2 separate regions of the Homo sapiens genome follow, and region 2 is linked to region 1. Evidence: promoter capture Hi-C in 16 types of primary human blood cells and fetal thymus (Javierre and others, 2016). All regions are on one chromosome and are shown on one strand. The core of a region is centred on a gene start or on the middle of the fragment in contact, and the rest is flanking DNA. Distances in the headings are between cores, read along the strand shown.

Evidence for each region. Contacts are between HindIII fragments. The CHiCAGO score rates a contact against its expected background, and 5 or more counts as called.
Region 2: a fragment that was not itself captured here is called in contact with the fragment with the promoter of SLC44A2 in region 1 in 7 of 17 cell types (naive CD8 T cells, naive B cells, total CD8 T cells and 4 more); the score reaches 6.5 in naive CD8 T cells.

What each region holds. Positions count from the first base shown.
Region 1 is chr19:10,624,056-10,627,212 of GRCh38, forward strand. SLC44A2 (solute carrier family 44 member 2 (CTL2 blood group)) reads left to right here and starts at 1,498. Exons shown (of 22, transcript NM_020428.4): 1 at 1,498-1,615; 2 at 2,198-2,246. The coding sequence starts at 1,579. RefSeq lists an enhancer at 1-537. The HindIII fragment of the contact is 23,966 bases long and covers 1-3,157 here.
Region 2 is chr19:10,510,128-10,513,350 of GRCh38, forward strand. It overlaps S1PR5 (sphingosine-1-phosphate receptor 5), which reads right to left. Exons shown (of 2, transcript NM_030760.5): 2 at 2,615-3,223. Among named protein-coding and RNA genes, the nearest start is that of S1PR5, 5.7 kb to the right of the region's middle. The HindIII fragment of the contact is 2,588 bases long and covers 544-3,131 here.

The DNA.
Region 1 (3,157 bases), core at 248-2,747:
GGCACGATCTCGGCTCATTGCAACCTCCGCCTCTCGGGTTGAAGTGATTCTCCTGCCTCAGCCTCCCAAGTAGCTGGGACTACAGGTGCACACCACAACATCCAGCTAATTTTTGTATTTTTAGTACAGACGGGGTTTCACCAAGTTGGCCAGGATGGTCTCGATCTCTTGACCTCATGATCCGCCCACCTCGGCCTCCCAAAGTGCTGGGATTATAGGTGTTAGCCACCACACCCAGCCTATTTTCTTTTTTCTTTTTCTTTTTGGAGACAGAGTCTCACTCTGTCCCCCAGGTTGGAGTGCAGTGAGGCAATCTTGGCTCACTGCAACCTCCACCTCCTGGGTTTAAGCGATTCTCCTGCCTCAGCTTCCCAAGTAGCTGGGATTACAGGCATGTGCCACCACACTGGCTAATGTTTGTATTTTTAGTAGAGAAGGGGTTTCACCATGTTGGCCAGGCTGGCTTAGAAATCCTGATCGACCTGCCTCAGCCTCCCAGAGTGCTGGGATTACAGGCATGAGCCACTGCACCTGGCCTATGCCTGCTCTTTGAGGTCAGTTTTGGTTTCATACTTTAGCCTCATTTTGCAGTTGAGGAAACTGAGGCTTAAGGAAGATAAGCCCTTTGTTAAGTATCCTCTAGTTCAGAGGGTGCAGAAGGAGCATTTGAATTCAGGGCGACCCAGGAGGATGTGGGCTCCACAAGGGTGGAGATTGGGTCTCTCTGGTTCCTCACTGTATGCGGTGCCCCGCCCAAGGCCTGCACCCACTAAGGGCTGAATAAATACTTGTTCTAAGACCAGGCCCAGTAGTGCACGCAGGTAATCCCAGCACTTTGGGGGGCCACGGTGGGAGGAGCCCACGAGTCCAGGAGTTAAAGATGAGCCTGGGCAACATAGCAACATCCCATCTCTACAAAAAAAATTAAAAATTAGCCGAGTGCAGTAGAGCACCTGTAGTCCCAGCTACTCAGGAGGCTTAGTCAGGAGGATGGCTTGAGGCAGGGAGGTCGAGACTGCGATGAGCTGTGATTGCACCACTGCACTCCAGCCTGGGCAACAGAGGGAGATCCTGTCTCAAAAAAAAAAAGCAGCAGACAGAAAGAAAACTAATTTCCTGCACAGCTTGGAGAAGTTTTCAGCACCAACATTCCACAGTTGGTTGTCTGGGTTTGGGCAGTAGGCCGTTTTCCCTCCCAGTGCCTCAGTTTCCACACCTGCAAAACGAAGCCACGGAAACGCCCTTTCAGGGTGGCCAGGGGTTCTAGGCGGCATCGCCCGGTGGCAGGGTGTTCCCAGGGTGAAGCCGCAGGGTTCCCGGGTGGGGGCGGGGAAGGCTAAATGCGGCCGGCCGGTGAGTGGCGGGAGCAGCTGCAGCCCCGCCCGCGCCCTCCCGGGTCCCTTAGTCTGGGCAGCTGCCCAGCTCGGGCCGGTCTGACCGGTTTGGGCCGCCCCGCCTGGCGCTGTGCTGGGAGGAGCCGCCGCCAGTCGCGCGGTCAGTGCCTCCCTCCAGACTCGGGAGGGTCGAGGGGGCGCGGGAGAGAGCGCGGGCGGCCGCCGGGGCTGGTCGCCTGCAGGGATGGGGGACGAGCGGCCCCACTACTACGGGAAACACGGTAGGCAGCGACCCCCGCCCGTAGCCCCGGGCCGACCCCTCGGTCCCTCGGAGGGGGCCTTGAGAGAACATGGGGCGCAGGGAAGGGGGCTGGAGGGGGAGCGCAATTGCAAATCTGCGCCTGGAGCCTCCCCACCATCAGCCAGGCCCCTTCACCCCACTTATCCCCCGCAGCCTCGCAGACGACCCTCCTTACTCTCCCCTACCCGAAGGACCTGCCCCTGTACCCCTCTGCCTGGCACTGCTGCCGGCGCCTCCTTCCCCCTATCCCACCTCAGATCTTCCCCATCTCCACCTGGTTCCGTGGTGGTCACCATTTCAGCCCTCTTCCCAGTGGGTGGCCGCCAGTTAATAAGTTTGTTCACAGTTAGTGATCCCTCCTTCCTCCCCTGTCCTGGCCTGCCAGAACTGGGGGCTTGGGTGTGGTCACCTGGAGGTGGGTGAGGCAGAAAATTCCACAGGTCTCTGAATTTTATTCTTGCCAAGGCAAAGACACCCCTAGGGGCTTTTGGGAGGGGGCTCTCCCAGCCCTGTCTTGGTTCAGGTCTCCAATCCCATCCATCTTAATCTTCTTGACTTTCAGGAACGCCACAGAAGTATGATCCCACTTTCAAAGGACCCATTTACAATAGGTAAGAGCTCTGGGTTTTGGGGGGTTCTCCCCGCTAATACTACCCCAATCCCTGTCTCTTCACACCCCCTCCCATCTGTTCTCCAACAAACTGGTGACAAATATTTGAAACTTTTTTTTTTTTTTGAGATGGAGTCTTGCTCTGTCACCAGGCTGGAGTGCCGTGGCGCGATCTCAATCTCGGCTCACTGCAACCTTCGCCTCCCGGGTTCGAGCAATTCTCCCACCTCAGTCTCCCAAGTAGCTGGGATTACAGGCTTGCACCACCACACCTGGCTAATTTTTTTTTTTTTTTGTACTTTTAGCAGAGATGTTTCGCTGTGTTGCCCATGCTGGTCTCGACCTCGTGAGCTCAAAGCGATCCACCTGCCTTGGCCTCCCAAAGTGCTGGGATTACAGGTGTGAGTTACCACACCTGGCCTGGACTTAATTTTTACCATGTTTATATTTATTTATTTATTTATTTATTTTTGAGATGGAGTCTCACTCTGTCACCCAGGCTGGAGTGGTGCAATCTCAGCTCACTGCAACCTTCCCCTCCTGGTTCAAGCACGTCTTCTGTCTCAGCCTCTCCAGTAGCTGTGACTACTCAGAGGCTACTCAGAAGGCTGAGGCAGGAGAATTGCTTGAATCTGGGAGGTGGAGGTTGCAGTAAGCTGAGATTGCGCCACTGCACTCCAGCCTGGAGGACAAGAGCGAGACTCTGTCTCAAAAAAAAATAACAAAAAAATAAAATACAGCCAGGCACGGTGGCTCACACCTATAATCCCAGCACTTTGGGAGGCCAAGGCAGGTGGATCACTTGAGGTTAGGAGTTCGAGACCAGCCTGGCTAACATGGTGAAACCCTGTCTCTACTAAAAATACAAGAATTAGCTGGGCATGGTGGCGGGCACCTATAATCCCAGCTACT
Region 2 (3,223 bases), core at 588-3,087, 110 kb before region 1:
AACTCCTGACCTCAGGTGATCCGCCCGCCTCGGCCTCCCAAAGTGCTGGGATTACAGGTATGAGTCCACTGCGCCTGGCTGAACTGGATGCTTTTTAAATTTTCTAGAAAACTCATAAGCAAGTGTGCCTGTGTTCCAACTGGTTGGTTTCCCGTGTGTGTGGCCTCCAGGGGCACTCTGAACGTGGCCAGCAGGGACTTGGGGTCCCCCCAGTCTGGGACACCTGTCCCCAAAACACCGCTTTTTTTGAGGTTGCCTGCAGTTCCAAGGTTTCCCGGAAGGTGGAGCGCTGCAGTCTGAACCCGAAGCCAGACGCCCCCCAACCCGGCCCCAGGGCCCATCCAGCCGTTCAGGGGTCAAGAATGCGCCTGGGGACATGCCGGGGGCAGGGGCCAGCACGTCTGGAGCCTTTTATGGGCACAAACGGCGCCCTGGCATCGTTCCAACCATGAATGCAGACCCCCGTGGGAGGGACTGTTGGCATAGCCTTGCCAGACCCATCTGGAGGGGTCAGATACCAAGCCAGTGCCTCCTGGGGCCTGAAGCTTAAGCTAATGTCCTGGCTCAGACACTGAGACAAGGTAGTCACTGTCTGGAATTTCCTCATCTGTCTAATGGGGATTAGGAAACCTACCTTGCAAAGTTGCTATAAGGCTGAAAAATAGGTGTGTCCCAGAACTGTGCAGAAAACTAGCCAGACAAAATGAACTCTTACTTTAGGCCGGGTGTGGAGGCTCACACCTGTATCCCAGCACTTCGTTGTTGTTGTTGTTGTTGTTATTGTTATTTTGTTTTCTGAGATGGAGTCTTGCTCGGTCGCCCAGGCTGGAGTGCAGTGGCGCGATCTCAACTTACTGCAACCTCCAGCCTCCTGGGTTCAAGTGATTCTCCCTCCTCAGCCTCCCGAGTAGCTCGGACTACAGGCGCGCGGCACCATGCCCGGCTAATTTTTTTTTTTTTTTTTGTATTTTTATTAGAGGCGGAGTTTCACCATGTTGGCCAGGCTGGTCTCGAGCTCCTGACCTCTAGAGATCCGCCTGCCTCGGCTTCCCAAAGTGCTGGGATTACAGGTGTGAGTCACCGTGCCTGGCCTTTATCCCAGCACTTTGGGAGGCCAAGGTGGGTTGCTTGAGCCCAGGAGTTTGAGACCAGCCTGGGCAACGTGGTGAGAAATCATCTCTAAAAAAAAATTCAAAACATGTTTGGTGTGGTGCTCCAGTAGCCCCAGCTACTCGGGTTGGGGGCTGAGGCAAGAGGATCACTTGAGCACAGGAGTTCAGGAGGATCACTTGAGGCTGCAGTGAGCTGGGATTATGCCAGTGTACTCCAGGCTGGGCGACAGAGCAAGATCCTATCTCAAAAAGAAACCAAAAAACGGCCGGGCACAGTGGCTCTACCTGTAATCCCAGCACTTTGGGAGGCTGAGGCGGGCAGATCACGAGGTCAGGAGTTTAAGACCAGCCTGATCAATATGTGAAACCCCATCTCTACTAAAAATACAAAAACTAGCCAGGTGTGGTGGCGGTGCCTGTAATCCCAGCTACTCGGGAGGCTGAGGCAGGAGAATCGCCTGAACCCAGGAGGCGGAGGTTGTAGTGAGCCAAGATTGCAGCACTGCACTCCAGCCTGGTGACGGAGTGAGACTTCATCTCAAAAAAAAAAAAAAGGCCAGGCGCAGTGGCTCACACCTGTTATCCCAGCACTTTGGGAGGCCGAGGTGGGCGGATCACAAGGTCAGGAGATCAAGACCATCCTGGCTAACACTGTGAAACCCCATCTCTACTAAAAATACAAAAAAATTAGCCATGCTTGGTGGCGGGCACCTGTAGTCCCAGCTACTTGGGAAGCTGAGGCAGGAGAATGGCGTGAACCTGGGAGGTGGAGCTTACAGTGAGCCGAGATTGCGCCACTGCACTCCAGCCTGGGTGATAGAGTGAGCCTCCATCTCAAAAAAAAAAAAAAAAGAGAAACCAAAAAACCTCTTATGTTTTCCTAAAAGACATGATTTCATCACACAGGCTGGAGTTCAGTTATGCAAAAATAGCTCACTGCAGCCCCTGAGCTCCTGGGTTCTGGAAATCCTCCTTCTTCAGCCTCCCCAGTAGCTGTGACTATAGGCATGCGTAACCACAACTGCCTAATTTTTAAAATTTTTTGTAGAGATGGGGTCTCACTATGTTGACCAGGCTGGTCTCAAACTCCCAGCCTCAATCGATCCTTCTGCCTCAGCCTCCCAAAGTGTTGGGATTACAGGCATGAGCCACTGTGTCTGGCCTTATTTTGTTATCCTTTTTTTTTTTTTTTTTTTTTTAGACCGAGTCTCACTTTGTTACCCAGGCTGGAGTGCAGCTCTTTGCAACCTCCGCCTCCCAGTTTCAAGGGATTCTCCTGCCTCAGCCTCCCGAGTAGCTGGAACTATATGCGTAAGCCATCACACTTGGCTAATTTTGGTATTTTTAGTAGAGATGGGGTTTCACCATGTTGGCCAAACTGGTCTCAAACTCCTGACATCAGGTGATCTGCCCACCTCTGCCTCCCAAAGTGCTGGGGTTAGAGGCATGAGTCACGGCACCCAGCCTATTATTATTATTTCTTTTAATGAAGGATCTGAAACTGCATTTGAAGAAATTTTATTAACTGGGCATGGTGGTGCATGCCTGTAGTCCCAGCTACTAGGGAGGCTGAAGCAGGAACTCCAGGCTTGATCCCAGGAGTTCCAGGCTGCAGTGAGCTATAATTGTGCCCATTGCACTCCAGCCTGGGTGACAGAGCACAAGATCCCAACTCAAAAAAAAAAAAAAGAAAGAAAGAAAGAAAAGAAAAATAAAAAAGAAATTTTATTACCAGATAGGATTTGGCTGAGTCTCCCAGAGTCAAATTTGGGGGTGCCCCACCCTTGGCATTGTCCTTGATAACTTTATTCCACTCTTACACTCAATTCCTCAGTAATTCTGTCTGCTGCCTCTAAAATCTATCTAGAATCCACGGGGTCTGGGCTTAGCTGGAATCTCCATCATTGTTCCTGTGGCTCAGTGCAGCCCCCCTTCACCTTCTCTGGTTTTCAACCTCCCATGGAGGCCACAAGACACCTGTGATCACCTGAATTAGGGCAAGTCCCTCTTCTGCTTAGAAGCTTCTATGGCTCCCACCTCACTCAGAGCAAAAGCGAAGTCCTCTATATCACCCACAAGGTCCTTCGGGAACTACTCCTTCAGCTCCTTGT